7 separate regions of the Homo sapiens genome follow, and all the other regions are linked to region 1. Evidence: promoter capture Hi-C in 16 types of primary human blood cells and fetal thymus (Javierre and others, 2016). All regions are on one chromosome and are shown on one strand. Each heading gives the region's core, a stretch centred on a gene start or on the middle of the fragment in contact. The rest is flanking DNA. Distances are from core to core; before and after follow the strand shown. Region 1 holds the start of PRKD3 (protein kinase D3). Region 2 overlaps RMDN2 (regulator of microtubule dynamics 2). Region 3 overlaps RMDN2 (regulator of microtubule dynamics 2). Region 4 has its middle 12 kb from the start of RMDN2. Region 5 has its middle 11 kb from the start of PIRAT1. Region 6 overlaps PIRAT1 (PU.1 (SPI1) induced regulator of S100A8 and S100A9 alarmin transcription 1). Region 7 overlaps PIRAT1 (PU.1 (SPI1) induced regulator of S100A8 and S100A9 alarmin transcription 1).

What was found. Contacts are between HindIII fragments. The CHiCAGO score rates a contact against its expected background, and 5 or more counts as called.
Region 2: a fragment that was not itself captured here is called in contact with the fragment with the promoter of PRKD3 in region 1 in 1 of 17 cell types (M1 macrophages); the score reaches 5.9 in M1 macrophages.
Region 3: a fragment that was not itself captured here is called in contact with the fragment with the promoter of PRKD3 in region 1 in 3 of 17 cell types (naive B cells, naive CD4 T cells and non-activated CD4 T cells); the score reaches 6.6 in naive B cells.
Region 4: a fragment that was not itself captured here is called in contact with the fragment with the promoter of PRKD3 in region 1 in 3 of 17 cell types (M2 macrophages, total CD8 T cells and activated CD4 T cells); the score reaches 7.5 in M2 macrophages.
Region 5: a fragment that was not itself captured here is called in contact with the fragment with the promoter of PRKD3 in region 1 in 12 of 17 cell types (M1 macrophages, fetal thymus, total CD8 T cells and 9 more); the score reaches 9.0 in M1 macrophages.
Region 6: a contact is called between a fragment that was not itself captured here and the fragment with the promoter of PRKD3 in region 1, in 12 of 17 cell types (M0 macrophages, M2 macrophages, endothelial precursors and 9 more). The highest score is 9.8, in M0 macrophages.
Region 7: a contact is called between a fragment that was not itself captured here and the fragment with the promoter of PRKD3 in region 1, in 15 of 17 cell types (total B cells, naive B cells, naive CD8 T cells and 12 more). The highest score is 14.9, in total B cells.

Annotation. Positions count from the first base shown.
Region 1 is chr2:37,322,567-37,326,971 of GRCh38, forward strand. PRKD3 (protein kinase D3) reads right to left here and starts at 2,267. Exons shown (of 19, transcript NM_005813.6): 1 at 2,115-2,267. PRKD3-DT (PRKD3 divergent transcript) reads left to right here and starts at 2,515. Exons shown (of 2, transcript NR_183394.1): 1 at 2,515-2,956; 2 at 3,911-4,198. RefSeq lists an enhancer at 1,278-1,357 and a silencer at 1,998-2,627. The HindIII fragment of the contact is 7,598 bases long and covers 618-4,405 here.
Region 2 is chr2:37,947,638-37,952,042 of GRCh38, forward strand. All of the region lies in intron 2 of RMDN2 (regulator of microtubule dynamics 2), which reads left to right. RMDN2-AS1 (RMDN2 antisense RNA 1) reads right to left here. Exons shown (of 4, transcript NR_102712.1): 4 at 2,697-2,900. Among named protein-coding and RNA genes, the nearest start is that of RMDN2, 25 kb to the left of the region's middle. The HindIII fragment of the contact is 2,386 bases long and covers 634-3,019 here.
Region 3 is chr2:37,926,711-37,931,115 of GRCh38, forward strand. RMDN2 (regulator of microtubule dynamics 2) reads left to right here. Exons shown (of 11, transcript NM_001170791.3): 2 at 2,552-3,019. The coding sequence starts at 2,568. Among named protein-coding and RNA genes, the nearest start is that of RMDN2, 3.6 kb to the left of the region's middle. The HindIII fragment of the contact is 4,176 bases long and covers 1,068-4,405 here.
Region 4 is chr2:37,910,876-37,915,280 of GRCh38, forward strand. No RefSeq gene overlaps it. Among named protein-coding and RNA genes, the nearest start is that of RMDN2, 12 kb to the right of the region's middle. The HindIII fragment of the contact is 203 bases long and covers 1,860-2,062 here.
Region 5 is chr2:37,884,263-37,888,667 of GRCh38, forward strand. No RefSeq gene overlaps it. Among named protein-coding and RNA genes, the nearest start is that of PIRAT1, 11 kb to the left of the region's middle. The HindIII fragment of the contact is 1,007 bases long and covers 1,666-2,672 here.
Region 6 is chr2:37,863,004-37,867,408 of GRCh38, forward strand. It overlaps PIRAT1 (PU.1 (SPI1) induced regulator of S100A8 and S100A9 alarmin transcription 1), which reads right to left. Exons shown (of 4, transcript NR_110012.1): 2 at 2,111-2,275. Among named protein-coding and RNA genes, the nearest start is that of PIRAT1, 11 kb to the right of the region's middle. The HindIII fragment of the contact is 3,994 bases long and covers 506-4,405 here.
Region 7 is chr2:37,844,204-37,848,608 of GRCh38, forward strand. The region is part of intron 2 of PIRAT1 (PU.1 (SPI1) induced regulator of S100A8 and S100A9 alarmin transcription 1); the gene reads right to left. Among named protein-coding and RNA genes, the nearest start is that of PIRAT1, 29 kb to the right of the region's middle. The HindIII fragment of the contact is 1,412 bases long and covers 1,874-3,285 here.

The sequences.
Region 1 (4,405 bases), core at 1,017-3,516:
AGCTTGACAGATGTTAGTCTCTGCACCAGTAGTAGCTAAGAAATCTGATTGGTTAGCAGCCAATGAGCAATTTCTCACATACTGCCACAATAAACTAACCACAGAAATGGAAAAATTTTTTTTCCTACATTAAAATGAAAATATCTCATAAGCACATTATCTCAAGTTTTTCCTGAGAGGGCTACTCAAAGAGATACATATATATATATAGCAAGTTCGATCTGAATTACATAATCAGCGAGACTCAAAGTACAATCATCACAGAAGATTGTGAATTATAAGCAGCATTATATCAAATTAAAACTTGTACTAGCAAAGAATTTCCTTATATATCAAGCTCTGTACAAGCAGTTTCTTTTAAAAACGAACAATTAACTCCACTGTAGTATTTTCAACTTTAGAGTCTTTTAAAAAAATGAGAACAAAATGTCCCTTAAGAAAACTGCACTTAAATGACCACCTATTCATATTTTTCTGTATGTGGTGTTTTCAATTCGTAATTTAAAAAAATGTAATATCAGAAAGTTTTATTTATGAAGTTCTGTGTGTGTGGCAGTGTTTAAATCCACGAACAGAAAGAAATTTCTATTTTAAAGTGGCTATCTGATGAAACTGAAAGCTTAAAATTTTCTCTAAAAGACTTACCATTATCTAGGATGCTTAAAAAATTAGTTTTAAGATACACATCAGTCAACATTCTTAATGTGAAACGCTATATACTAAATTACAGAACCTGAGTCACCCTGAAATGTGAAATGCTATATACTAAATTATAGAACCGAGGATGGAACCTGGCTCGTCAAGGAGTACTCCAAGCTCATGCACTCAGGCCCACCACAACTGTATTACTACCTACTGAAGAAAAACCTTCCACGGTTTCTGTGTGACACGTTTCAAATCCTACTTTTAGAAAATCTTCTAACTTCTTGGCTGAATGTCCATGCTTGATCTTAACTCGGAATCTAACAGGGAAGGAAGCAAGGGTTCGTTGACAAGGAAAAACTGGCCTAGATCTCAGTCGGGGGAACTTTATGGACGCCTTCTGCAGCAAAGCTAAGGAAAATGAAAATCGCTAAAAATGTAAGAACGACGACATTAAGTAGAAGGGTAAAAAAAAAGTTTCAGAGGAATAAAATAACATTTTCTAGGATACAAATTAAGGCATTTAAAAGTTCTTGTTCCATTTGTGGCTATGTCTCATAAAAGCTGTGTCGCACCAAGCAGCAGTTCAGGGTGTAACTTATCCTTCCTAATCAAAGATGACACCGATAGTCTTATTTCCTGTGGGGATGGGTGTGATTGAAGACACAGTTACGTCCATGCCATCAATCTGTGTGTGGAAAAGTCGGCAGGTCGCGCGCACACACTTGTCGCTTGAATCGTATGTGTGCCTGCAGACGGCAAGGCCTATGCCTCTGACTGCGTTCACCTGAAATAAAATACCCAACCGGCAATACAGTAGTATATGGTTATTTTCACTGCTCAAAGAAACAGTGGCACTCCTCAGTGTTTCAGCTTAAGGAAAACCTCCCAGGAGGGAGCAACTCGGAACAATGCTGCAACTAGCAAATCCAAACGCAGTCGGGATACTGGGGCGAGGGGCTTACATTCTCCAAGCACCATTTACTCACCCCTTTGAGACGACTACAACGCAAAGTGAGGAAATGAAACGAAAAAGCTGGTCCAAAATTCGGCACTGCGAGCGCCGCGGGTCTGGCTTCGGGAACTAGTTTGGGAGACCCGGGAACGGATCGCCTCCGATGGGCCGGGCGCGGTGGTCTCCAGCGGAGCGCGAACCCAAGTTGCCCTCCGCGCGGACGCCGGAACTTGGCCCCTCTGGCGGCTGCGGCGGCGCCCCCGCTCCCCCTCAGCCGCCCACCTCCCGCCGCGCGCTCCCCCAACTTCCCGCCCAGCGCGGCTGACACCGCCCAGCCCGGCGCGGGGTCCGAGTCCTGTCGCCGCCGCCGCCGCGTGCAGTTGGGGGGTTGGGGGTTTGGGGGATGGGGGAGGGGCCGCCGCCGCCTCAGCCCGACGGGCCGGGAGAACAAAGCGGCGGCGGCGGCGGCGCGAACTTTTTCGGTGTCTGTTCAGCGCTCCCCGAGGCGACTACTTACAGTGGCAGGCTCGGCCCGTCGTGAGAAACTGCGCCCGCCAGCGTCTGAGTACCGGACGAGGCGCCAGCGAGGCTTCACGCGCCTCGCAGGATCCCGCCCGCCTCCGGCGCCCCTTCCTCCCTCCCTCCCCGTCCCGTCCTGGGGCCGGAGGGCGGGGGGCCGGGGCGCGCGGGGGGCGGGGGCGCGCGGCCAGCGCGGGGCCTGCCGGGAGCTGTAGTTCCTCGGCCCGCGCCCGCCGGGAGGTGGCCGCGGCGGGAGGTCGGGGTTGTCTCTGCCCCGCGAAGGGGCGCCGGGAGCGCCGGGTACAGTCGGGCTGGCTCCGCACCCTCGAGTTCCGGGCGTCTTCGTGAGCGCGGGGGCACGGGGCAGGGGCGCCGCGGGAGTCGCGAGCGTGTCTATCAGTTACACGCGGTACTTGATCGCGCTGTTGCCGACGGTACTGTCTTTTCCTCTACTGCCGTGCACTCTTGAGGGAGGCGGTGGCGACAATGGGCCAGAGGTGATAGTTGGAACGGGGGACTTGTAAGGCGTCCAGAGCAGAGAGCTGCTTCCACCCTGAGATGTCACAGCCCTCCCGCATGCTCCTCCCTGCTGCCTGCCCCCGGGGTGGCCGCCGGCACCGCAGCTCGGCGCCCAAACCGGCACGTCCCAAGCCCGACGTTCCGGTGACTGCAGGGGTTTTCCCGGTGCTCGGTGTTTCCTCCCCGTCGGCCTTTAAACGCGAATGTGACCCTACCACCAAAGTGGAGTGCAGTCCAGAATCACCAAACCTGGGCTTCCAGGTGTCTGGAAACACAATGTTAACATTTGTTTTGCTCCAAAACAAAGTATGACCGTGTCGGGTGAGTGGGGCGGGAGTGGGAGTCAGCAGCATAAGGATCTAGAGGGAAAATACACTGTGCATAAATTTTCGATGTCTTATGTGAGAGAAAGGCCTGAGAAGCTGACAGGCATTGTCACAGAAGCCACATGATTCTCCTTATGTCAACATTTTATCCCAAAAGTACTTAAATATATTGAAACAATCAGAGGGACTACAATCAAGAGGGCAGTTTTCTTTCTTCTCTCTTTTTCTTTCTTTTCCCCTTTCTCTCTTTCTTCTTTCTCTCTAGAAAAGGTTTTACTCTGTCATCCAGGCTGAAGTGCAGTGACACGATCATAGCTCACTGCAGCCTGGAGCTGCTGGGCTCAAGTGATTATCCTGCGTCAGCCTCCCAAGCAGCTGGGACTACAGGCGTGTGCCACCACGCCCCACTAACTTTTAAGTTAGTTTTTGTAGAGACGAGGTCTCTTGCTGTGTTACCCAGGCTGGTCTCCTGACCTCAAGAGATCCGCCCGCCTCGGCCCTCCAAATCGTTGGGATTACAGGCGTGAGACACCGCGCCCAGCCAAGAGGGCAGTTTTCAAGAATAGAAAGAAAAATAAACATAAATTAGCCCCTACTTTTGATACAAAATCATCACTCTTAATGGATGTCCTCGGATTTAAAGTTAAGAAATGAAAATATTAAGATAATTTATATTAAACATAAGGCAGGTAAGATTGTGTAAAACCTTGATTACTTTATTTAAAAATCTATTTAAAAAAAGATTTCTGAAACATTCTCAGGAATTGGAAGTTGCTAAATGTCTTACATCCAGCAGTATCTAATTCAATCTTACTATATTTTTGTTATTAGAGTCCTATTCAGCTATTCTTTTACTTTAAAATTGAAAGTAGATTTACTCAAGTTTGCCTTCTTTTTAAAGGACTCTCTTGCTTAACTTTGCCCTTTTCTTCCTTTCACTTCCCAACAGACGTTTTAGTCCAGCCCCAAATTTTGCCTCTGAGCAAGATTCCCAGGACCTCATTGGAGCAGTTTACAGCCAGTCTTATCTCACTATTAACTTCCATTTTCTGCTGTAGTACTTAAAGTGACAGAAGTTACTCTTCCTAGAAGTAACTTTTCCAGACGATTCAAACTGCTGTTATACAGAGATTTAAGTATTTGTGTGCATGTGTGAAAACAGAGATATGTAATGTATATATTTCATTTTATTTCCACTGTTCTGCTTCTCTTTTTAAAAATAAAGCGGTCTCCTCCACTTTGGGTAAATCTTTCAGCACATTTGATCAAAGAACTATCTTTGTATCTAATTTTTTGCTTAACATGAACTACAGTTTCCTCAAGGTGTTCCATTCCTGAGCATTACAGAGATAAAGATTGAATTTAATAAATAAGTGTATTGCCATGTGAAATGTTTTAATCCTTGAGAGAAAATATAATCTGAATGCTCAAAATGGAAAGGATT
Region 2 (4,405 bases), core at 577-3,076, 620 kb after region 1:
ACTATAAAAACAACTAAATTAATGTAATGAATTGAATAGTTTGTATTATTATTGAAGAATGATACTACACTCAGATCAGCTAAAGATGTGCATTTTTCAATAGCTGAATTCAGAGTACTTCACGATATTTGTTTTGAATAATGTAGAAAAACTTAAATTTGTCAATTCAAGTTAACTCAGTCAATTTTTAGTTTGGGGCATGTTCTTTGTGTTAAGGATTCAGTCCCAGTCAGGGTTCTCCCCTTGTGCCCCCTACTTCTCCCCGTGTGTAATGTAGATTCTCTGAAGAGACTTGTCATCTAGGTACCAGGAGGGGGACATTCAGTCCTAGTATTGTTCACTGTCTTTTCTAGACTCCAGCTTAGATAGGCAGCTGCTGTGAGGTACCTCAGAAGACGCTTCTGCCTTGACTCTGGGGGTCGTCATGACCCGTATGTTCTGGAACACAGCTACTCAAATTGTGGTCTGTGGACCAGCAACATCAGCATCCAGTCTTGCCTGTGAGAGTGTGGGAAATGCATGTTCTTAGGACATACCCCGGACCTAGCGAATCAGAATGTCTGGGAGCAGTGCTCAGGAATCTGCATTTTAAGAAGCTCTGTGGGTGACTCTTATACACCCTAACATTTGAGAAGCTTTGTTCTAGAAGATTTTCTAACATCCACATGAGCAATCATGATGAAATTTTTGTTGTAATGAGTGGTAATTATGGTTACAGATAAACAAAAGGTTCATTGGGCACAGTGAGTATAATGATGGAATACTGACCTAGGTGAGAATAGAGTGGCTGTTGCAGAAAAGGAGGAGGGTTGGGTGGCCATAGGGCATGATAAAAGCAGAAGGTACCTGGGGTCATGGAATTGATAATAAAGAGAATTGGGAATGAATTGAAGGACGAACATGTTTTAGATGCTTGTCATTATAAGGGGTTACTATTTGCTTTTGGGCTAAGTCTAATTTTGGTTCTCTTAAAAAGCCAAAAGGAGGCAATTTGCAGACATTTAGAGGGTTAGGTAAGTTCTTCACCTAGAACGATATTAATCAGCTTCTAGATATTTCCTGTACTGGTATGAGATTTCTTTTCTGATGTCTGAGCAGATCTGGATCTTCTTCCTCATCCCCCAAATGCGCACACACCTAAACACCGTTTTTTGTGTCTGCATAATCATAGATTTGCTTGAATAAGGTCGGGGGAGTGATCTGACCTCTTTATTACCTCGACTGAGCAGCAGTGATTGACAGTGTTGAGATTTAGTTACAAATAATTATTTCCTTTGGGGTAGCTCAGTGAGCAGATGCTTCTTTTAGAGGCCATTGGTGGGAGTGTTAAACAACAAGCTGGCCCAATTTTTCAAAGAAAAATTTTTTATAGAAACTTTATAAGCATTACGTATTATGTTCTTGCAATGTGCAAAAGAGATCCTTTTGGAAAATGACAATCAGACCTTAGTGCGGCTTAGGAACAAAAGACAGTAGTCTCACAAGAGAGGGAAAATGTAATAGATTGCTACAGAGACAGACAGTCCTCCTTGGGCTTCTTGTGCTCCCAGACATCTTGCTACATGAGCCATACATGTAAGGCCCTGATCATTCTTTATGTGGGCCATTTTTCAGGGTTCTGGTGAGCAACCTTGAAGAATGAGTTACTGTTTCCCTTCAGGACCAAGAGCAGGTTTAGCAGATTTGCTTACTACTTGCTATAGAAGTGGTAGATCATCTAAGCTCAGCGTTCTTTCCTGTAACACAATCCACTGTGAAGGCAAGTGTCCTTGGGCCCTCTGCATTGCCCCTGTGGCAATGTGGGACAAAGGAGAACTGATGTAAATGTCCTGGTGATTATGCTGCTTTGCTATGCTGTAAGTAACATAAGTCTTCTGTCTCTAACCCACGAATCTCATGTCTTCTGCCAGCATCCATGATACAGTAAGAGATTACTTTATTAGTTTGTATGTAAACTAAAATCAAATTACAAATCCGACCATTGTATGGTGAACGTTAGAGAGCTTTGGGTCTCTTAAAAGGAATTTGTTCAAGGGTTTCCTGCAGTAGGGTGTTAGGAAGGGAGCAAAGGCTAGAGGCGGTAGTAGTATTTAGGATCAGGAAATTGCACAGTAAATAAAAGTATTTGAGGGGGTGTTTCATGTCATAGGTAAGTATACACATACACGTATACCTGTTATGGGGACAATAGCCCAAATTGGTTTAGATAAGAAAGGACAGTGTTTCTTTTCTAATAACTCTATTAACCTTGCATTTAGGTGAGTATCAGTTGTTCTGAGGAGTGATAAATAGTGCCACAGCATATCCCCGTAATCTGTGCAAATGGCCCAAGCAGTCAGATGGCATACTTTACTGCCAAGGTGAACGATGCTTGTTTCCTTTGTGGTGGCAATGACATTTGCTACTTATTAAACTTTTTTTCCCTTCTCAATGTATCTTTAGGCCAAAGTCTCTAACATTTGCTTTTCCGTATCACTGAAGGATGCAAAAATCTGGGGTAAAGAATGTTCAAGTGAAAGAAGAAGGAGTTAGTAGTACAGGGGTGTGGAAGGCAGCTGGTGAGAGAGATGGTCCAAGGTGAGAGAGATGGTCCAAGGTAAAGGATTGTACAGCTGTCATATATGTTATTGTCCTTATCCAGCTGTTTTCCCACCCCTGGATTTGTTGGATGACTCCTCCAACAGTGAAGGTAGAAACACATTCCACAGCCATGTGAATTCCAACTTCGGAGAAAGGTGAGCTACAGAACAGTTCTAATATAAACTGATGTCATGAGATTCTAGAGTCTGCTGTCATCACATTCTGTGTTATTGCCATGTTAACTCCACATGCAGCTTGAGCATTCAGTCTTCTGACCTGTTCCACCTCTACAGGGCATTTTATGGCTTAAGGATGACGGCCTAGAAGGGAAGGGAGAGACTTACTTTGGATTAAATTTACAATGGGAAAGTGCTTAAGGTAAGCCTTAGAAAAAAACTTCAACATGTGCTAAAAGAACATTGAAAATATTCATAAACGAAGCTTTAGTGCTCTCCTTTGTTTCCCATAATAACTGGATATCCTGGACTGTCCAGATATTCACTTGAAACATTCTCCCCAGAGAGATTGTGCTTCATCCATGGTTAATATTTTAAAATACAATTAGTCAACAGAATATAAGTTTATTCTCCTTAACTCATTTAAATACAGTAGTTAGTAATCTCCAACAGATATTGTGGTTTATTACCTTTAAAACCAGTTCTATCTTTTCCTTTGGGAATCTTTTTGTTCTGGTATCCTTGCATATGTTTCCCCTGATCTTTCTTTCTACCTGCTTCCCTGATTTTTTCAACTTCTCTTCCCAAGGTTTAATAGAGTGGGTAGGTACTGTGTAGGTAGAGATAACCTCTTAGACTCCCGCATTCTTTTGGGTACATCTGTGTGACCATTAACTTAAGCTCCCCTATTCTTCTTATTCCCTGCTGTTTTCATATTAGTATGGAAACAATACCAATTGGTGGACACCAAAAGGTGGATATTATTCTTCAGGAGGCTTGGCAGGTCTCCACTCTGCTCCCTATTTTTTTTCCTCATTTGACCCTTTTCTCACTCTTAGCTGCTGCAAAGAGGACCAGAGCTTCCAACGATGTTCTCCAGAAGATCAAGTTAGTACAGACGCCCAGCATCGTGGAGCCTCTTCTATTTCACAACCAAGTATATCTCTTGGTCATAAAACATCTTATTCCCCTGTAACACATAAAGTCAATGCAGCCAAAGCAAGTAGAAGGTTATTATCTGTATCAAGTCCATCTTTCTCTGAAAGAAGATATTCTTTATTTGTTGGATTTCAAAAAAGAAATGCTTCCCCTTACTGGCAACAAAGTAGAGCTAACTTTGATTCTGAAGAAGACACAGGCTTCACTGATATAAAATCTTCCTCAGACCATTGTGGTAGCTTTATTTCCCGCAGAAGACGTTTCTCATCCCGTAAACTAAGTATAGTTTCCTATTACAAGAGTGCCATTTTTTTTGATCCTCAAGCAAGTGGCCAGAATGTGTTTAATCTAAATGAAATCGAAATCTTTTCTAAAACTTCAAGTAATACTGATGCTAAAAAACATATAACCATCTCTGCTCCTGAATATAACACTAAAAATTTTAAGAATTTTGAAACAAACACTACTTCTCCAGCCTTTGGGAACACTATTGATACAGCCTCCTATCAACAAAGCACATCATCCTTCTTTTCTCTTGCAAGTGATATTTCCTCTCCCGATCAACAAAATGGAATTGCCAATGATATTCAACAAAGGGGCCAATTATGTAAAGATTTAAAAGATTTCCTTCATCCTCGTCCTGAAAGTTACAGCACAGATCATTCTCCAATCATGATTCCACAGCATCCCTCTCAAAGTGGAACTTTCCC
Region 3 (4,405 bases), core at 1,906-4,405, 610 kb after region 1:
AGGATTGCTTGGGCCCAGGAGTTCGGGACCAGCCTAGCAACATAGGGAGACTCACTCTCTACAAGTAATGTAAAAATTAGCCGGGCGTGGTTGCCCACGCTTGTGGTCCTAGCTACTAGGGAGGCTGAGGCAGGAGGATGACTTGAGCCCAAGTGGTCGAGGCTACAGTGAGCAGTGATTGTACCACTGCACTCCAGCCTAGGTGACAGAGCGAGACTCTAAAAAAAAAAAGCTATGTAAATGACTTCATACAACCTTTGAAATTATTCTGAAGGCAAGCAAGTACTCTGATGTATTTTGTACATTATTTTTAATGTGTCATTTTTCAAATTATCAGTGTTGAAGCACATTTGTTTTATGCTGTTATAAAACTCAAACATAGCTTGAACTGTTAGTCTTTAATTGTGTTTGTTTAAAACATCAGCTCCGTTGATTCTATTTTTTTCTAGTTAATTTTTGTGGTTCTGAAATAATATTTCAGCTTTGAGCATCTCTGTTCAGTCAGTACTCTCCTTCACCTCCTTGTTGATGCTTTCCAAATCTCCCACATGTTGTGGGTGCATCCAAGAGTTAGGAACAGGTTGTCAAAGGTGACAGTTTTCACTTCCCAGTTGGGTGATCACTGGGTAAGTGACTTGACACCTGTGTGCCTCAGTTCACTTATCTGCAAAATAATAATAGGACCTGCATGGAAGAGATGATTTGGAATTGGTGCAGTTCCTAAAGAAAGGGCCAAGCAAAATAAGACTTTCCCACCTGCTGAAACCTGGTCCTGTCTCAAGAATAAGTTCTCCTTCCTAGGTAGATTTTTACTTCTACTTATTTGCTTATTAAATGAAAATATTTTCAAACTAGGCTATATTTCTTAATGTAAAAGTCCAAGGTATGGGCAAAAGAAAGCAATCAGAATAGGAAGATTTCCTTTAATAGACCTCTATATCAGCGAATGGACATCCTGCCTGAATAATTTTATTGACAAAAATAAAGATGATTAAACTTGATGTGTGAATATTAGCTGGAATGCAGTTGTAATTAATGGGCATAGAGTGACTTATTTTTTTGCAATAAGCTTTCAAGATAATTTAGTTTTGTGATACAATTTTTTTGTAGAATACATTTACACATCTAGCAATAATTAGCTACAATTTCAGCTGAAGTTACAAATTGATTGGAATCTGTTGCTGGCATGTCTCCTGGATGAGCTGGGAGTGGGCAGATGGTTATAGTTCCCAGTTATACCAATTAGGTGAAAAAAAATTTTTTTAAGTTAATTCCAGGCAAATTTCTGTGAGGTAAAGCAGGCCAGATTAAGTACCAAGGCTTTCTCTGGAATCTTTGGTTTAAAAGAAGGAATTCTTAAATCTCTTGGATATAATATTCACTAACACCTGAGGTAATTTCTGGAAGATTATTTTAAAGTCAGTCCTTCTCTTTGACACTTAGGCCTGTAATGAAGTGTAGAACATCCAAACAGGATACTTTCTGTGTTCCAGGCATATACTCTAGTGAAATAGGAATCCAAAGACGTTCTTATTTTAAGCAGGCTTTTCAGAAATAGATTATGGCTGCTTGTTCTCTCAGACCCTCTTCCATAGGGCATTTGCGAGCCCAGAAATCCTAACCAGTAGACCACCAAGGAAGCATTTGAAACATTACATTTAGTTGGCCATTTGAAGTGTAAGAAACAATGCTTGGTAGAATATGTGGAATCACAGGATATAAAGCAGAGGATGGTGAATTTCGGGTATACAACCTAATTCAGAATTTTCATCTTACTGATATTTTTTCCCCAATTCACACTCCCAGCTATTTACTTTGCTTCCTATCTTCACTTCCTATCTTAGAACAGTGAAGCAATCAAAGAGAGCTTGCATAACCTCCCACCACTGCATCTACCCACCTATTTAAATCTCTGCTCACATAATCTGCCTTTTATGACTATGAATGAATGGTTTATGTTCCCATCAAAGGTCAACTCCTGTGCTTGTGCGATAGAGCCCACCTCCTTTGCCTTCTCAAGTTTATTGCTATGCAGTTTTCTATATGTCTACTTCATCAATTTTTCTTTTCTTTTTATGGACTCTTTTCTGTTGGCAAAAAAAACCTGTTATTTCTTGATCTTTTGGCACCATTTTCGCACTTAATAATGGCGTAATTTCTCTTCTATTTGTTTTCTATTTGCCCATCTGTTCTTTTTTCTCCTTTTCCTGCCTTCTTTTGGACCAAGTGAGTATCTTTAGTGTTCCATTTTTATCTCTATTATTGTCTTGATATGTATTGCCTGGGGTTTTTTTGTTTGTTTGTTTTTTAGTGGTTATTCTAGGGTTTACAGCTATGCATCTTTAACTTAATATGATAATTCTTCATTGTAATCTAAGACTCTTACAACAGTATACTTCCATTTGTCCTTTCCCACCCTTTGGGCTATTGTCCTACTTTTTGTAAATCCTGTGATGTAAACTTGGCTTTTGTTGATTGAAAAAGCACCTATATTTTTGTCTTGGACAAAGACATAAACAACATTCATTTACATTTATGTTTTTAATTTTAGAAACGAAAACCAAGAAATGCCTTATTCCACAAACAAAGAGTTGATACTTGGCATCATGGTGGGCACTGCTGGAATCAGCTTGCTGCTCTTGTGGTACCACAAGGTCCGTAAACCAGGGATAGCAATGAAGTTACCTGAATTTCTTTCTCTGGGTAATACATTTAATTCAATAACTTTGCAAGATGAAATACATGATGACCAAGGAACAACAGTAATCTTTCAAGAAAGGCAACTTCAGATACTGGAGAAGTTAAACGAATTACTGACAAATATGGAAGAACTCAAAGAGGAAATCAGATTTCTTAAAGAAGCTATTCCAAAGCTGGAGGAATATATACAAGATGAACTTGGAGGGAAAATAACTGTTCATAAGATAAGCCCTCAGCACAGAGCGAGAAAAAGAAGACTCCCCACAATTCAAAGTTCAGCAACAAGTAATAGTTCAGAGGAAGCAGAAAGTGAAGGAGGGTAAGTTTCTTTAAGATATTTCCTATGTTGAATTGGTTATTATCATTATTACTATTATTTAGGTATTTTCATTATGGGTTCCAGTCATATATCCTGCTGCTCACATAAAATGAAAAGGAGTGATATTTTGACTTAGATTATAATTAAAGTCATATTCAGTAGTCAGTATTTAAGCTAGTTTAGACCATATTGACAAAAGGAATATAAAAAACTTACTGGTAGCAGGTGGTATTATGTGAATATTGAGGAAGGCAGTAATTACTTGCCAAAGTGTATAACCTACTGTTTTAATGTAGCCACTCTGACTCCTTCTGAGAATTCTCTAGACCACTCCTGTTCAAAAGAACTTTCCGCAGTGATGGAAATGGTCCAAGTCTGTGCTGCCCAATGTGGTAGCCACTAGCCCCCTCTGGCCACAAAGCACATGAAATGTGGCTAATGCAACTGAGGAACTGAATTTTCCTTTTATGTCATTGAAGTTGTAATTTTATTTAATTGTAATTAAATTTAAATAGCCACTTGGGCTACTGGCTACTGAATTTTAGTGCAGGTCAAAAAAGACTTGAGAGTATATAGGTGACTCTGTCTCATCTTTGCATGGGTTAATCCAGTGGCTAGGTCTCTTTTCTTTTCTTTTTTTCCTTGCAGAAACCCTCAGCTCACCCGAGGGCCAATGGAAATTTATTAATTTTTTTGTCCTTTTCCATCCTTCCCCAAGTGGCTTTTCCTTGCAAAATGCCTGACATGACACCAGAGGGGAACCTGGGAGCGAGGGGCACCCCAAGGGGCAGCCCAGGGACTTAAATACAAGCTGGAGGGCAGGGCGCAGGTGGGACAGGCAAGAGACAGCACGAGGGACATGGCTTCTCAGGGAGACCAAAGACTTACTTTCTTGCAGGAAGCAGCCGTGCCAGAGGGCAGGGGACTAGGATCCTGGGTGCAGAGTGGGTGAGCAGAGAGGCCCCCAACCCTGGATGGAACCCACATTCCCCAAAGAAGTAGCAGCAGGGGATGAGGGCCTTCCCTGGTGGACTCCAGAGACAGAGGGGAGAGTGAGCCAGATGTGCTGCCTCAGGGAAAGGGAGGAGGTGCTAGCAGAGTGAGGGTTAAGGCTGGTGCCCAGCCTCTGGCACGGTGGGCCTTCCGCCTCCGCCTGACATGAGGACAAAGGGGCACAGTGGGCAGGCAGCGCATGGGTCTGTCTCTGGCAGGGCAGAGGGCGGCAGGAGCAGACTCCCTCCAGGCTCAAGACACAGGCCCAGCGCTGCTACCCACCCACCCACCCGCCGACTAGGTCTCTTTTCTGAGTCACAGTTTCAAATGATTTAAGATTATTTTAGATTCCTTCTGAATATTTTCCTTCCCTATTTTAAAACCAGTCAACAA
Region 4 (4,405 bases), core at 711-3,210, 590 kb after region 1:
ATGGCTAAATCTGTTGGTGTAGCAGAGTAGGCATCCATCTAAAATTTTTTGTATGAGGCTAGTCAGTTATAATTTTGCTATTTCCTAAGTAGTTCCTCATTTTCCATCGGTTTCTAATGTCTACGTCTACATCTGGGTCTATTATTGGGCTCTAGTCTTTTCCATTAATTACACTATCCTTGCACTGGTTCTAGTAAATTTTAATACTTGCACTGGTTCCAGTAAATTTTAGTACTTGGGAGAGCTAGTCCAATTTCATTATTAATTTTCAGACTTTTCCTGGTTACTGTTACATTTTCTTCTTCCAGTTAAACATTAAAGTTATTTTGTCAAGTGGACCAAAATGAAATGTTTTTGGTTGAAAATGTGTGGATTTATATAAGGAAACATAGCATCTTTAAAACAGTGAATCTTTGTGTCCAAGAATATAGTATGGCTTTTCATTCATTTCAGCCTTCCTTTATGTTTCTCAATACGGCTTTAACTTTTTCATGTAGACCCAGCACATTTTCTATTACTGTAATGAGGCTCCATGGTACAGTGGATACAAGCAGGGACTCTGGGGCTAGACAGGGCAAATTCCAGCTCTAGCACTTCCTGGCCAAGTGACCTTGGGCAACTGCATAGCCTCTAACCACCTCAGTTTTCTCATCTCTAAAACGGGAACAACAGTACTTATATCATAGGTTTGTTATGAGCATTAATAATACGTTGTCTGTTACATGGGAATCACTTAGCAAAGTGTCTAGTTCATTGCAGTCGTTATCATCATCATAAAGAAAACTTTACATAACTGTATGAAAAGGCTAGCAACCAACAGAAAAATTGTTGGTGAGCATTTTAAAATTGTGCAATATGTGGAGGGTAATTAGGCAATAACTACCACAATTTTAAACACTGATCTCTTTGACTCAGGAATTCCAGTTCTAAAAATGTTACCTACATATTTAAAGAACTAAATTGTTAATACCCTCCAATAAAGACCATCAGGGACACACCTGTAGCTGATTGTGGGTTGTCTCAGTAAGATGATATTAGAATGAGCAGATTATAGAATTTGGGTTTTAGTTGGATAGTTTTAGAGAGGTTCCACAGAACACTCTTGATACCGTCAGAAAGGAAGCAATTCAGTCATTGGGTATCTCAGTAAATCTTATCTATAGGGAAGGCAGGCAAGAGCTAGGATAAAGCTGTAACTAGTAAAGAATTAGCAGTCACTCATTTATTAAGAGAGGCAGGTGTTTGGCATTTTGTATTGCACAGCATCCTTGTCAGAACTGGATGTTCTATGAAAACAGTATGGGTTAGCTATAAGCATCACATTAGTTTATAATAACATTGAGGCCTACTACATCAGATCTGTTCCTGGATGACAGGCACTGATTTTATTTTTTCTTTCTTGTAATGTACTTGCAATGAGTCATTGTTTTTCATAGCCAGTGATGGAAATAACTTAGAGGTCTATTAATTCAGAGGCTAGTTAAAAATTACGGTATATTCTCACAATGAAATAGTTATCAAAATGAACTAGTCATTAAGTGAAAAAAATTGCAGAACATTATATGGTTTAAACAGTATATATAACATACACACGTGTTTATACATCATAGAAATTTGCATTCATATGCAAAAATATTGTACACTCAAAATCTTAACAATGTTTACCTCTGGAAAGCAGGATCCAGTGAAAAGGACAGGGTGCTTTATCTCTTTAATTAATGTACTTCTATTTGTTTTAAAATCTAAATGCTGAATTATTTTATTGATAAAAATGTCTTTAAATTATGATAAGCAAATATGGCTGGTTTTAAATTTTCAGTAACGGAATTCTTCTTGATTTGAAGTGCAAGCAATCCCAAAGCTTGCTCATGAATGCTATTATGTTGTAAAAATAAATTAATTTAATTTGGCCATTCCTCCGGGGACCTATTTGATTCAGGTAACAGTTCCCAGAGAATGCTGACAAGGAGATAATTTTTTCCATCTTTCCTTTGGGTGTAATATTAGCATTGGGGTTTCTGAAAGTCATTAAGGTAACTAATTGCTACTGAATTATATATTAAGCTTGGAAGAGAGTGAATCCATTCCTTCTTCCTATACAGATGAATATCAATAGTCATAAGGAATGAAAACCAAGACAACTGGATTTTAACAGGGAGGTGAGTCAAGTTCTTATGGTGAACTCCAAATATTTCAGAAATAGAGTCCTCTAATGTCAGTTCATTTATACATATGTAACACTGTGATGGTTAATATTGAGTATCAACTTGATTGGATTGAAGGATGCAAAGTATTGTTCTGGGGTGTGTCTCTAAGGGTGTTGCCAAAGGAAATTAACATTTGAGTCAGTGGACCGGGAAAGGCAGACTCACCCTCAATCTGGGTGGGCACCATCTAATCAGCTACCAGCACGGCTAGAATAAAGCAGGCAGAAGAAGGTGGAAAGACTTGACTTGCTGAGTCTTCTGGCCTTCCTCTTTCTCCCATGCTGGATGCTTCCTGCCCTCGAATATCAGACTCCAAGTTCTTCAGCTTTTGGACTCTTGGACTTAACACCAGTGATTTGCCAGGGGCTCTCAGGCCTTTGGCCACAGACTGAAGGCTGCACTGTCACCCTCCCTGCTTTTTAGGTTTTGGGACTTGGGCTGGCTTCTTTGCTCTTCAGCTTGCAAATGGCCTATCGTGGGACTTCACCTTGTGATCATGTGAGTCAATTCTTCTAATAAACTCCCCTTCATTTATACATATATCCTATTAGTTCTGTCCCTTTAGAGAATCCTAATAAACACATGGAATGAATTTATTTCTCCAAACTGCTGTCAATTATGCTCTATCAAATTCCCTTTTCCTACTGCATGGTGGGTTTCCTTGACCATGTGTCAGCCTGACTCCAGTCAGGAAATGTATGGAAATGTAGCCCAGTCAGCATCTCAATCATCTCAATCTCCAGTTCAGCAGCTCTCTCCCCTCACTCTAGATCAGGTTAGCCATATTCTCCATCACTCCTCTCCATCTTCACTGTCTTCACCTTCTCCCTTTCCTGCTCCTCTGCTATCAGTGCAGGTAGGAGGAGAAGGAGAAAAGACGGTTCCTCAGGTGGCTGCCCAGGGCATGCCGGGTGCCCTGTTTCTGGTTGGTTGCGATGCTCCCCTTAACCTGAAGAGTTGGGGATGGAGGTGGTCAGTGGGGGCATTCAGGTCCTGTATCCTTTCTCTTAGTCAGCACAGCTGATCTAATTCATGGAATCCTTGTACCCTGGGTGTGGACAGGTGGAGGGTACAAGTGGCCCTGACAGTGTGGACACATCCAAAATAGCACTCCTAAGCAATGGCAATCTCTTTCAAACCTTTTCAATCACCACCCAGGGGAAGGCAAAAAGCCACACTTTTGTGACTGCACATGCCCTTCCCCCCCTCCCTATAATGGCCCCCCAGCATTTCTGCAGCCCTCAGTCACATCTACCACCCTTGTGAGTGTGGGTACTGATAAGATCTATCTTCAGTATTTCTTGGGAACATTACTCTCTCCACTTGGTCACACTACTTGCCATTCTCCCCAGGGCGCTTCCTAGACTACAAGGCCTAGGTGCAGGAGAGCGAGCCCTGACTCCGCAGGCCTCCGACAGGAGATGTAGAGGATAGATCCCCTTCTTTCTTGCACTATCAGCAATTCTCTGGGCAAACACCCAACTCTTCACAAGCCCCACAGGTAGAAGAGGGCAGCTAGCTTCTCTTTTATAAGCACTGCCCTCTACTAGGGGGTTATTTCTTCCTGCACAGACCTGAGAACCAAGTTGGAGTGTGTGTTATTGGGGAAGGGGTCTGCTGGCAGTTGCTGAGATGACCCGTCTCCACAAGCCCATAGGGAAGTAGGTGTTGTTCTTTCAACTTACGGGCTGGTTATTTAGCAGTTCTTGTTTTCAGCTAAGGGTAGCATAATCAATCCCAGGAAAAACAAGAATGGACTCCTTTAGCATCTTTGCTCTTTCTGGGGGTTCAGGATCCCTATACTCTTTTTCTCTATCTGCTCAGTACCATCCTTTTGGTAAGATCCCCTCAGTGACTTGTCTCCAATTCTAGTTCTGCTTCTGATACAGGTTTCTCTGACACCCTGTTTGCAGTGTTTTTAGATGGCTTTTTTTTTTTTTTTTTTTGAGTTGGAGTCTCTGCCTGTGGCCCAGGCTGGAGTGCAGTGGCGTGATCTTGGCTCACTACAACCTCTGCCTCCTAGGTTCAAGCAATTCTCTGCCTCAGCCCCCTGAGTAGCTAGGATTAGAGGTGCCCGCCACCATACCCAGCTAATTTTTGTATTTTTACTAGAGATGGGGTTTCACCATCTTGGCCAGGCTGGTCTTGAACTCCTGACCTCGTGATCCACCTGCCTTGTCCTCCCAAAGTGCTGGGAT
Region 5 (4,405 bases), core at 919-3,418, 560 kb after region 1:
TCCACTGTAACAAGTAAAGAAAATATTCGAACTATTTTTTTTCTTTTTTGAGATGGGGTCTCTCTGTCACCCAGGCTGGAGTGCAATGGCATGATCTCGGCTCACTGCAACCTCTGCCTCCCAGTCAAGCGATTCTCCTGCCTCAGGTTCCCGAGTAGCTGGGATTACAGGCACCCACCACCACACCCAGCTAATTTTTTTGTTTTTTTAGTAGAGACGGGGTTTCACTATGTTGGTCAGGCTGGTCTCAAACTCCTGACCTCAGGTGATCCACCTGTCTTGGCCCCCCAAAGTGCTGGGATTACAGGCGTGAGCCACCACACCCGGCCCATTTTTAAATTAATTTTGATTGATGTTTAATGTTCAAAATGTCAGTAGAAGGTACACATAATTCATAAATAAATAGGCCTATACTGGCAATGTGGGCCCCAGTAGTTTTTGCTGATTGAGGTGTGCTATCATCAAAATTTGGAGTCTCTTGATTTAGAAGATAGAAATATCAGAATATTTTAGCTGATGTGATTAAAAATTTGATTTCATTCTTTAATTTCCCCTTAGTTGAGTCCTTCTGATTATGTTCTTCCATATGTCTATATGAAAAGAGAACGTTAAAGATACAGACTTTGAATCACAGTTCCAGACTGATGATCATGCTTTCTCATGATAAATTAATAAAGTGGTTTCTGATTACGACTCACTTTGCCATATAGTAAGTACAGAAAATTGTAAACAGTCCAGTCCATTTTTTCTCACTAAGAAGAGTAGTTGACATTTGGTGTTGACCTCCGTCTCCTACACTTGGTCTCTAGCCTGAGTTGGTCTCTCAGACTCTGATGAATCTGACGCCTTACCTGTGGGGATCTTGGTCAGGAACCCCTCAGTAAAGCACCTGCCACTGAGGGTCTTCTTTTGAACCAGCAGTTCTCAGACTGTATTTTTATCCCACCCCATCCCCACTGCATAGTTCTGCTTTAGTCCATTTTACATTTTCAGCTTTGGCATAAGATTTCCTTCTAAGAACAGTTGGAAGCTAGTGCCTTGCTTTGCTGCCACCATTTGCATCTGCTCTCAATGCTGAGCTCTCTGGTTTCATCTAATATTACCTGCAAACCTACAAAGACACGTCTTTTCTCAGATGGGTGTGTGTCTTTACTAGCCTTTATTTGTCTACCTCCACATCAGCCTGAGGTGCTCCCTGCCCCACAACCTCCCCTCAGCATCTCAGAATTCCTGGAATCCCTCTGGCAACACCTTTGTCAGTTTCCGCCTGTGGCATCCTTAAAGCCAGAGCTCTCCATTGTGTGTGCCTTCTGTAGACTCCAGCAGAGCTCTTTCTACATAGAAATACATAGTTACTTTCAGTGGCCAACACCACAATTACTTTTGCACCAACTGAATAGCTTCCAACTCCCCTAAAGACTCCCTCCAACCTCCTCCTCCCTACCCTCACTGCTCAGACTCTTTCTGTCCCTCTCAATTCTCCCTGGATCATCCCATGATACAACAACTGAAGGGTTAATGCCTGCCCTGGCAGGGGACTTCAGACCCTTCCTAGCCCTACTGCCTTGCAAATCACTCCCGCTGCTTAAATAGCATTGAGAGAGGCATAAGATTAAGGTAATTAACATTTGCTGAACCCTCTAAGGGAAGGAATTATGGAGGTGAAGCTTTTGACATCACCTAGGCATGCTCTGAGCTTTTCTACATGGATCTTCCTCTGTGGAGGAAGAAACTAAATAGCTTTTCATGTGGTTTCATGATTTTATGATCTTTTTGTCTGCCATATACAAAAAGAGATGAAGATATTTTTATTATTTCAGTGGCTGGCCGATAATACCCTCTTCACAGGAATCTCATACTTGTTGGAAAAATCCTCAATAGGGCCACTAGAGCAGGTGAGTCTCTGAGGGGGTGGGGAGGGTGGTAGTGGATCTTAGCTGGTGCTAAGACCGTCTGGAAAGGGCACACAGTGCAAGGAGACAGGATCATTTGCTCTCTTGTGAAGGAGTGGAGATGAGGTTAGGAAGTGGGGGAGGGAAGAGAGGAGAAAGGAGAGCACAGGAGGTGGCAGAATGTGGAATACGATGTCATATAACTCCCTGGGACTTCTCTGTGACATCACTAGCTTTGTGAGATGATTAAGAGAAAGACCAGTTACAGAAATTTCCGAGGAGTCGAAGTTTCCAGATTGAAGGCAGATGAAACAATATTCATGAATGCAGGAGTCCAGTAGAGTCCCAATAGAAAGTTTTCCAAATCCCCAAATGGCAGGGGAGGTCTCAGCTGGCATCTAGGTTCCACAGTTAATCACTTTAAGTCAGTTTTCATATCTAAATAAATATAACTTGCTTGCTTTACTCATTTTCAAATTTTGGGAGGAGACTGTACCAAGTACCTTTTTGGTCCTCCTCAACTCAAGACATCCTAATTCCTTTGATGCTCTAAATTACAGGTTCCCAAAGTCTGGTCTTTGAAAGCTCTCCAAGTGGTCTGTGGGTTGCTCAAATGCAATGGGAAGGTTTTGTTAGAAGAGGATTTTCTACTAGAGATTTGAATTCTCCATAAAAGGGTACAGAAATAGATATTTGAAAATTATAACCACAAAGATGGTCACATGCTAGGCAGACACTTCAAATGGTGTGGGGTGTGTGTGTTCTGTGGTTGCAAGCAGAAGCTTTGAGGTAGGCGGTCCAAGAGATTCCTTCAGCATGGTTCACAGTCTGAAGTCTCATTTAGGATGAAGTTAAGCCAAACTCTTACAGGGCCATTAAGAAATCAAAGCATGCCGGGCCCGGTGGCTCACACCTGTAATCCCAGCACTGTGGGAGGCCGAGGCAGGTGGATCACTTGCGGTCAGGAGTTCAAGATCAGCCTGGTCAACATGGTGAAACCCCATCTCTATTAAAAATACAAAAATTAGCAGGGTATGGTGGCATGTGCCTGTAATCCCAGCTGCTTGGGAGGCTGAGGCAGGAGAATCGCTGGAACCCAGGAGGCAGAGGATGCAGTGAGCCAAGATTGTACCACTGCACACCAGCCTGGGTGACAGAACGAGACTCTGCATCTCAAAAACAAACAACAACAACACAACAACAACAACAACAAAAAGAAATCAAACCACTTTGTTTGAGAGTCTTTAAAACAGGTATTTATAACTGACACCTCAACTGGGAAAACATCTTGACCCTAAACCTTTGCAATTTCGTTTCTGACCACAGTGGAGGGATGTCTTGGCCACATCACCCTCATATCCAATTTTATATCTAGTAATATAAACAACTACTCAGCTTTGAAGTTTAATGCCGAGTCATATTTTAGGGGATGGTTTGGAAAGAGACTGGCTAGGAAATCCTTCCTCAGAAGGGGTTTTTGTTTGTTTGTTTGTGTTGTTGTTTTGGTTTTGCGTTGTTTTTTTTTTTTAGACAGGATCTTGCTCTGTCACCCACGCTGGAGTGAAGTGGCATGATATTGGTTCATTGCAGCCTCGACCTCCCAGGCTTAAGCAATCCTCCTACCTCAGCCTCCCGAGTAGCTGGGACTACAGATGTGTGCCACCATGCTCAGCTAATTTTTGTATTTTTTAAAGAGATGGGGTTTTGCCATGTTGCCAGGCTCATCTTGAACTCCTGGACTCAAGCGAACCACCCACCTCAACCTCCCAAAATGCTGAGATTGCAGGTATGAGCCACTGTGCCCAGCCAGAAATGGTCTTTTGAAAACCTTCATTAATCTTTACTGTAGCACCTATTTTCCAATTTTAATATAAACAATGCTGCTCCATCCATTGGTTCAAAACTATGGCAAGAATAGAGATCATTCAGATGTCAATAATTTGGAAGTGGTATAATTGCATGTAATCCCCCCAAATCATAATCAAACAGACATAGAAACTAGAATGATGAAAGAACATTGAGGTCACTTTCAACAAAACTGGGTGAAAAGGAATTCTCACAACTCCAGAATATGGGTGGGTGAACCAAAACATGAGACAGCAGCAGGAGCTGAGAGAGCAAAGAAAGTCCAGAAATATTGTATGAACCACAGCATCTCTAAATTGCCAACGAAACCTGCCCTTCAAAAGAGGAGACTATACATTGTGTGAGAATCTATGTGAGCAAACTGAAAAACATTCCGGGAGAAAAGCTCCCATGTGATGGGGGAAGATGGCGGGACTGTGCTGTTGTCAACTTGGTCTGACAATGTGCTAGGCTGGAGAACAGCCCCAAACACACCCACATTCAAATCCCTGGAACCTGGAACTATGTTACCTTCCACGGCAACAGGGATTTAGCAGATGTGATTAAGTTAAGGATTTTGAGATGATGAGATATCCTGGATTATCCAGATGGGCTTGATATCATCACAAGGGTCCTTATGGTAGAGAACCAGGAGGATCAGAATCAGA
Region 6 (4,405 bases), core at 1,253-3,752, 540 kb after region 1:
CCTGGCAGGCCCCTGGCCCTCCCAGATGACCATCAGACATCTCTAACATTCCCTCCTGACCTTGACCTCCACTGCATCAGCACTGTCCTTGCTGCCCCAACCCTCTCTGGCCTCTCTCTTGAGCTGCCAAACACTGAGGAGAACAGTCGCAGGGCTGTGCTGACTGAAGCCACTGACACGGGCTATCGAGCCTGCAGATGACCCTCACGGCTGCTGGACAATCCTTTGGACAAGATTCATGAATTTTCAGGCATCTCTCAGATTGGCTCCCCAAGTCTTTCCCATTCTCCTCAAGTCCCCACCCAAGCCTCATTCCCTCAGGTTGTCCTCTCACTCTCCTGAGACACCGAGCCATAGACATGACCTTTCTCCATGTCTCTCCTTTTGAAGCTTCAGTCATTCATTTTTTCCTCCTGTCTCTGAGGATGACACCCTCATCTTTCTTGTCCTGGGCCCCCTCTGTAACTTTGCTCCAATCATCCTCCCTTCTGATTTTTTGTTTTAAAGCTTCCCTCTCCCTTGGCTTTGTTCTCTCTACCTAGAAGTGAGCACAGGTGCTCCGTTGCTCACAAGGCAACAAGAAAAAGTCCTTTTACCTCTTTGACCCCCTCTCTTTACCTTCAAATGTATTCAAAGAGCAAGAGTAACCCACCATCTGTTTTTCATGGCTTCATGATTGTCCATTCCAATGGCTTTGATCCACCTTTCTTATCTGTGACTGTCCCAGTATTGGACTCCATTAACAACCTCCCCAACCCCACCCTCTTTCTGGAAAGGTCTCCCTCAATTTCTGTGAGGTTGTGCTCCGTTGCTCTCTGCCCCGCATTCTCTCCAAAAGCTCCTCCATCACTTCTTCCCGGCTCCTCTCTCTCCTCCTGTGCAAACACATAGGGGTCTCCCTACTCTCTGCCCTCAGCCCTCACCATGTAATCCCTGCACTTGGCCTTTCTGTCGTCTCTCCTCTCCTGCCCCATCTCTGTGTAGCATTCTCTGGATCTGTCCCCTGCTCCAAGCCTTGGGGACAAAAAGCTGGTCCCAAATATTCAACCAGCTGGCAATCTGATGCCTTCTGCTGCCACAAATCTCTGTACCCCAAACGACACTTATTCCTTCCCATAATCCCTCAGCCAGATCCTACCACTGACTTCACACTTTTCCTCGTGTTCTGCCTCAACATTTTATGTGGCCTTTGACTCTTCCGTGCCCACCTCCAGTCAGTCACCGAGCCAAGAAAATCCAAGAAGACAGACCCCCTCCTGTTTCCACTGGCCTCACCATTGAACAAACACTTATTATGTTCAAATATAATATATTTTCTATATAATGTATAATACGTTTATTATATTTAAATATATATTTTATATAATGTATAATTTATTAAATTTTATATATTCATATATTTTCTATCTTTTATTTATAAATATTATATGACATATTTCTATATTTAAATATTAATTTATTACACATTTATGTATAACTTTGTGTCATATAATATATTTAATATATAAATTATATTTTTAACACATATAAATATACCATGAAACATTTCATACATGAACATAAATGATGTTACACTGTCATGGTTCCCAGTCTCTGTGCTGAGGCACCCAGGACACCACAGTGAAATCACAGAGGCTTCACAGCGTATATCAGTTTTCAAGGGACAATACACAATCTACGACTTTTAAGATTTGGGGACCTAACAACCTACACAGGTATTTAGTTTTGTCTTGGGACACTGAAAAATTTGTTGAGACACTAAGGGCTTTATGATCTGAGAGAGTTTGTGAAACTCAGGTATCTAGGTTTCAAAAAATACAATGGCCACCCGTGTTCCTACAAGGCAGCTCAGGAATAGAGCACTTAAATACCTGGAAGCCCTCTGATGTTCCATCCCTAATTACATCATCTGCACCTGCCCACCCTTCCAGAACTGATTACTGGTCTGAATTTTTGCATTTACAATTCCCTTGCTTTTCTTTATAGTTTTTATTGCAGTTGTCTGTGTTCTTAAAACATATAGGCAGATATGCATATTGTTTAGATTTGCATGTCAACCTTCATCACATTTTTCACTGAATGTTACCTATCTCCTGGCTAATTTTCCTACCTCTTAGTTGATCTTCTTGCCATTGCATGTACTTTTTTAGTATGCGATCAGGTCTCTTCACTGCTCAACAGTCTTCAGGGACTCCCCGTCCACTACTGAATCAATTCCCTTGGCATTCTCTGCTTCACCAAGTCCCTTAATTTCTCTGAATCCCAGCTTCCTTATCTGTAAAATAGGAGTGACGATACCCATCTTACAGTATTGTTTTTAAGGATCAAGCGAGACAATCCTGTAACATGCTTACAATGGGGTCTGACACATAGTAGGAAGCACAGTATGTTGGAGCTCTTATTATTATTATTATTTTTATTACTCCTCCCTGAGCCGTTATTTTTTTTCATGATTATTACTCCTCCATGAACTTTTCCCTTAGACATAGCACAGTGCCCTGAACACAGTGAATGTTCAGGAAACATTTGTTGAATGTGAAATAAACTGATCTCCATCAACTCACGTGCAAGTTGGTAATGCCCAGAAAAGGAGCTCTTATTAATGGGTCTTTGAAGAACCCCCAGAGGGAGGCCAATATTGCCTATTTTGGAAGGAGAGGGGAGGACATTGATACTTTCTCTTGCTAAGGAGAGTAAATAAGATGTAATGGGGTCTTTAAAACATTTTTATAGCAGTGTGTGGGCATGGGCTTGGTCTGAGCTGCTCCCAGCTGGCTTTTGTCAAGCGTTGGCTGCCTCAAAGCAGAGCAGCCTGCTCGGGAGGACCGCAGGATTCGCTGGGGCCCCAGCTGGAGGGAGGGAACCCATTCCTCTGATGTGCACAGTTGTCTCAAGCCTGGAACCCATTCCTTGCTCAGATGCCAAAAAACTATTTTGGATCCTGTAGAGCTGGCAGGAGTCCCTAGTATGCCATGTCTCCGTGTGTGAAGTGCTTGTCACTTGCTTCTTCCCTTGGGGCTATTTCAAAGAAGATGGAAGAAATTAATGGCTGTAAATGACTAAGGCCCTCGAGTTATGGTTTTATTGATGCATAATTTTGACAGGTTGTCTCCTTATTGAGAAACGGCATGTTTCTGATCTTTTGAGAAAGATTATTCTCGCTAATCTGAGAAGGGGTGCCATGCATGATGCTGGAAAAGGACAACATGTAATCAGTCTTAGCAAAAACACATCCCCACAGGCCTGTGGTCCCTGCAGAACCACTTCATCTTTAATTTGCTGTGTTTTCTCAGTAGGTTCTCATTCCTGCCTCTCCATTACCACTGCCTGATCTTCAAACTTGCAAAGGAAAGTCACCATTTGTTCTCTAGGAGTGTCATGTTTTAAAACTATGCACATACTAAAAAGCAGAAAAACTTGCATACATGTGCAATTATGTCAACGTAAGTGCACATTTATGTGAATATATTCTGTACATAAGGTAAAAAAAAATAGGATAGTGTTCTATGATAAGAAATGCATATTGACTACCCAAACAATGATTAAAGTTTATCTATCTTCTGCCTTGGGTAGCACAGAGTGACTTATCAAATGTCAATGGTTACACTAACATTTACTTTAGCAGAGAGATAATTACAAGAGCTGAAAAGCCTATTGAAACCATCAGAGTGTCCACACATCAGCTGGTTTCCATCCAAACCAGTTTATAATCTAAAGCAGGAATGTCTTTCCTTTAGATGCGACTAAGGTCACAACCTTTTGTTTTTTGTTCTTAACAAGGTTCCGTGGCCATAGTGACCCCAGCCAAGTTTCACATTGCCTCCGGACTTCTGGATGTGGCTCTGCTGCTAATGCTGGCGGGGTGAGTGGAAGAGCTGACCACTGGCTCTAGTTGCAATTTCCACTATGAAAAATGTTTCTAGGGAGGTAGACGTGAGAGGTCAAATGGATTATGAATGACATTTGTATAGCCAAGTTCATAAGATCCTGAAGGAGCAATAGCAAGGCTCTCTTTACTTTTGTGTATTTGCTTTGAAAGTCAAGGTAACTCATAGAATAACCCTTTTTTGGAAATCTTAGTTACAAAGTTGTGATTTGATATTAAAAATTTAGATACATTAGATGATTTGCAACTTTGTTGTTGACCTTTGTGAAAAGAAAAGCAAATATCACTCAGGTGTGCTTCACTAGGTACTAAAAGGTAAACAGCTGTGTGCAGTTTCAGTGATTTTTCCCCGGTGACACCCATTCTGAATGAGGTGCTTTGTCTTAATTTTAGATAGAACTGAAACTCTTTATTAAATAACTAATTGCTTATAGCAACTGGTCAACTTCCTCTTTAAAGAAAATATTCTTGGAAAATGATCTTTTTGTGTCTAGAAATCCTTTGTAAAACAATTACTCT
Region 7 (4,405 bases), core at 1,330-3,829, 520 kb after region 1:
TCCACACCTTTTTTTCTGGAGTATATCCTTTAGTAGGTCTTTCAACAATACTCTATTTAATGTCTCTCAGTTTTTCCCTGAAATGTCTATATTTTACCCTCACTCCTGAATAATTTAATTGGCTGTATATTTCTAGTATGATTTTTTCTAGTATTTCTAATATGATTTTTATTTTTTGCTCAGCATATTGATGTATTTGTCCATTGTCATCTGGTCTGTATGGTGGCTGTTAAGAAGTCTATGATAAGTCTAAATATTCCTTTTTTAGATAAATTGTCTGTCATCTTGGATGGCTTTTAAGTTATTCTCTTCTTATTAGTGGTCTGCATTTCCACTCCAAAGCATCTAGCTGTGAATTTAACTTTATTTTTCCTCTTTGGGACTTGTGCTTCTTGTCTCAGGGCTTATGTCATCAATTATGGAAATTCCCAGTCATTAGGGTTTGTTTGTTTTTCAGAGACAGGATCTCACTCAATTGCCCAGGCTGGAGTGAAGTGGTGCCATCATAGTTCCTGCAGCCTCCAACTCCTCTCACTATGTTGCCCAGGCTGGTCTCAAACTCTTGGCCTCAAGCAATCCTTCTGCCTTGGTCTCCCAAAGTGCTGGGATTACAGGCATGACCCACCATGCCTGGCCTCATTCGTCTTTTAAATCTTAACTTTCCCCTATTCCCTTTCCTTTTCATATTCTGAAACTCTTATTAGGCATAGGTTAGCCATCTTATTTTTTCCACCATGCTTTTAATGTCTATTTATTAGTTTTAGTCTCTATCTCTATGATAATTCTGGACAACTCTTTAGATAGATCTTCTAATTTCCTGATTCTTCATCTTTATCTTCTCTACCATTTTATTGAGTCATTGCATTCTTAATACTAACTGATTTTTTATTGTACTTCTAGAAATTCTATTTTCATTTTGTTGTTACTTTCTTACGCTTCTGATTATACCCTTAATTATTTACATACACATATTTTAAAGTCTCTAGTCAATTGTTCTATTATCTCAAGTATTTGCACCTCCAATCCTCCCGTTAGCTGGATCTGTTTATTTTCACTCATGTTGGATTTTTTTAAACTTCCTCTGTTTTATAATTTTTGACCATCAGTTCATCCTTAGTGGGGCTTGTTTTCATGCAAGAATCCCCTGCAGCTATGGGAGCATCCATCCATGGATTTTTCATGTGTTTTACAGGCGTCCCATGGGCATCACTGGCTCTGGTTTTGAGGTTCCTGGGGTAACATATATTTGAACCACTAATTTGAGAGAAGGTTAGGCCTGGGATTTGCATTTTGCAGGATGCTTTTATTCACTCATAGCCAGATGAGTTTCCCTATGATCATCTGGGCCACTGGCAAAATGTTTTCTGTTTTTTTGTTTTGTTTTGTTTTGTTTTTGTTTTGAGATGGAGTTTCACTCTGTCACCCAGGCTGGAGTGCAGTGGTGCGATGTTGACTCACTGCAACCTCCACCTCCCTGGTTGAAAGAATTCCCCTCCCTCAGCCTCCCAAGTAGCTGGGATTACAGGCACATGCCACCACGCCCAGATAATTTTTTTGTATTTTTAGTACAGACGGTGCTTCAGCATGTTGGCCAGACCAGTCTCGAACTCCTGACCTCAGGCAATCCGCCCGCCTCGGCCTCCCAAAGTGCTGGGATTATAGGCATGAGCCACCATGCCCAGCAGGTACAATGTTTTCTAGTCTAACCTTTCAGTGGTGTCCTTTGAGAGTCCAGGCTTTACGTAGCCATCTCAGCACCTTTTGTAGACACGCAATCTTGTCTCTGTCCCTCCATAGCCATTAAAATCCAAGCCAGGAAAGTATCTGACCAACTCCTGACGCCTCCCCACACTGGCTGAAATATCAACACAGAAGCTTGCCTTCCTAGTTTGAATTTTCTTTTTTCCTTTGGCACCCAAGTATTTCCCATTCTTTCCTGAAACTTGAAGCAGAAATAAAAGAACTTCCACAATGTTCCATTTCATATCTACTCACCTGCCACAACTGTGCTCTACCTTTCCTCTCATTACTATGGATGAACCATCTGTGCCTATAGGGCCATTCCTTATACTTGTACACCAGCTCCCATTCCCTCTCACCTGTTCAAGGACACCACTCTTGTAATTCTCCGTTCTCTCCCTCTCTCTGTCTCTCTCTTTCTCCTCTCTCTGTCTCTGTCCTCCTCTCTGTCTCTCTCTTTCTCCTCTCCCTCTCTCTTTCTCCTCTCTCTGTCTCTCTCTTTCTCCTCTCCCTGTCTCTCTCTCTCTCACTCTCTCTCTCTCTCTCTCTCTCACTCTCTCTCTCTCTCTCCTGCACTAATTTTCCTCTTGTTCTTGGATTACTCCTATCAGCATGCTGGTATTTCTATTATTATTTTTTTTTTTTCTGAAAAAAAAAAAAAAAAAAAAAGAAAGAAACCTCAGTTTATCTTTCCACCCATCTAGTGTCCCACTTCTCTTGTTACAGAAAATTTCTCAAAGTTTTTGCCTCTAATTCCTCTCCTTCATTCCCCTTTTACACTCATTCCAATCAAACCTTTGTCCTCACCATTCCACCAAAAGTACTCTTTCAAGTTCACCAATGACCTCCACATTGCTAATTCAATTCTCGGTCATTATCTTACTTGACCTAGTAGCATAATGTGAAGTAATAGATGATTCCCTTCCCCTGGAAATCCTTTAATCTTGCTATGTTTAGGACTCTGCATTTTGTTTGTTTTCCTTCTTTCACATCAGTCACTTCTCAGTCTCATTTGCTATTTATTCCTTTTCTCCCCAAACTCTGGAGTACCTCAGAGTTCAGTCCTTGGATGTCTTCTCTTTTCTAGCCCTATTCAGTTTACTGATGATCCCATCCAGTCTGAAGCGTTTAAAGGCCCTTTGTAAGTTAACAACTCCCAAATGTATACCTGTAGCTTGTATCTCACTCCTAAGTTTCAAATTTATATATCAAACTGTCCACTCAACATCTCCAGTGGGCTGTGTAGTAGACTTTTCAAATATATCTTGTCCAAAAATGACCTCCTGCTATTTCTTATCAATCATGCTCTTCCCCATCTTAGTTAATGGCAGCTCCATCCTTCTGATAGTTCAGGCAAAAACCTTGGAGTCACTGTTGACTTCTTCCCCTCCCCTTGGATCTGAAAATAAAGCTCTGGAATCAGGGCAGTTGTTCCACTCAAATGAATAAAATGGTATGAACACAGAACAAAGGGAGCCTATGTTCTGTTAGGAAGGGGTAAGAGAACAAATAAGTGTGACATGAAACTGAACATGCCACATGGGAAGCTTAAAATGCTATATGGGTTGGAAGGTGGGAGAGCTAATGCCTAGAAATAGAGATTCTGATAGGCATCTAAAAGGCACAGGCTTCTGAGATGTTCTGAGATGTTCCTGAAAGTTGTGTATGATTGGATTACTTACAGTGGGGGTGAGTGGGAATTCCAGGCAGAAGGAGCAACTGAGCAAGACCCACATCTTCACAGTTAGCTCTGCCTTCCCCTGGAGTAGGACTCTTTCTGCCTACCCTGGCAATATGTCTCCTGGGAGCCCTTCGTAATGCCTGGACCCCAATTCCACCCCATCTTACCCGCCAACATAGATCAAATCACAGTTGCTCTGTTTCACCAACATTAACTTCCAAATTGTCTCTCACAGGCTTCCCGCTCTCAATTCATGTTACCCCCATCCCAGTCCACACTTCCTCTCCTATGTTGTGTCTCATTGCCTATCTCTTGGCCTTTGGGCTGCCTCCCCCTCTGTCCATTCTGTTCACTGCAGCCAGATTGACGGTAACAGCGATGATGACTCTTTTGAACAACATGTAAGAGCCTATTCTGCACCACGCCTTGCTCTCAAGGAGGCTTGTAATCAAGAAAAAAAAAAAAAAAAAAAAAAAACTTGGAAACATCTACAGGATACAGATGTTTCTATAAAACTTAACATAATACAACTGGCACAGGAGAAAAAATGATAAATTCTATCAGGGAGGGTGGGAGCAATTATAGAAATCACTCAAAATTTATATGTGGCTCCTCATCATCTGTAGAATTAAGATCTTCCATAACATGCCCCTAGCTACCCATTCTGCTTTGTTACCCCCCCAGTGCCCTTCATGTACCCCGCCTTCTAACCAAAGTGCTCTGTTTGCACATGGGCCCTGAGCCTTCCCTCTCCATGCTTGTGCTCTTGCTGCTCCATCTGCTTGCAATACAAGTGCCCTACCTTGCGTGTGTAAATGCTACTCAGTATGTAAAACAACACAGTGCCCTGCACATAACAAACACTAAATAGTGTCAGTCGTCTTCATCATTATCATCATCATTATTCTGGAAAGATTAGTTCAATTCTCACATCTCTTAATTTTTAAAGTCACTTATGGTCTTGCTTGTGTTGCAGACATACAA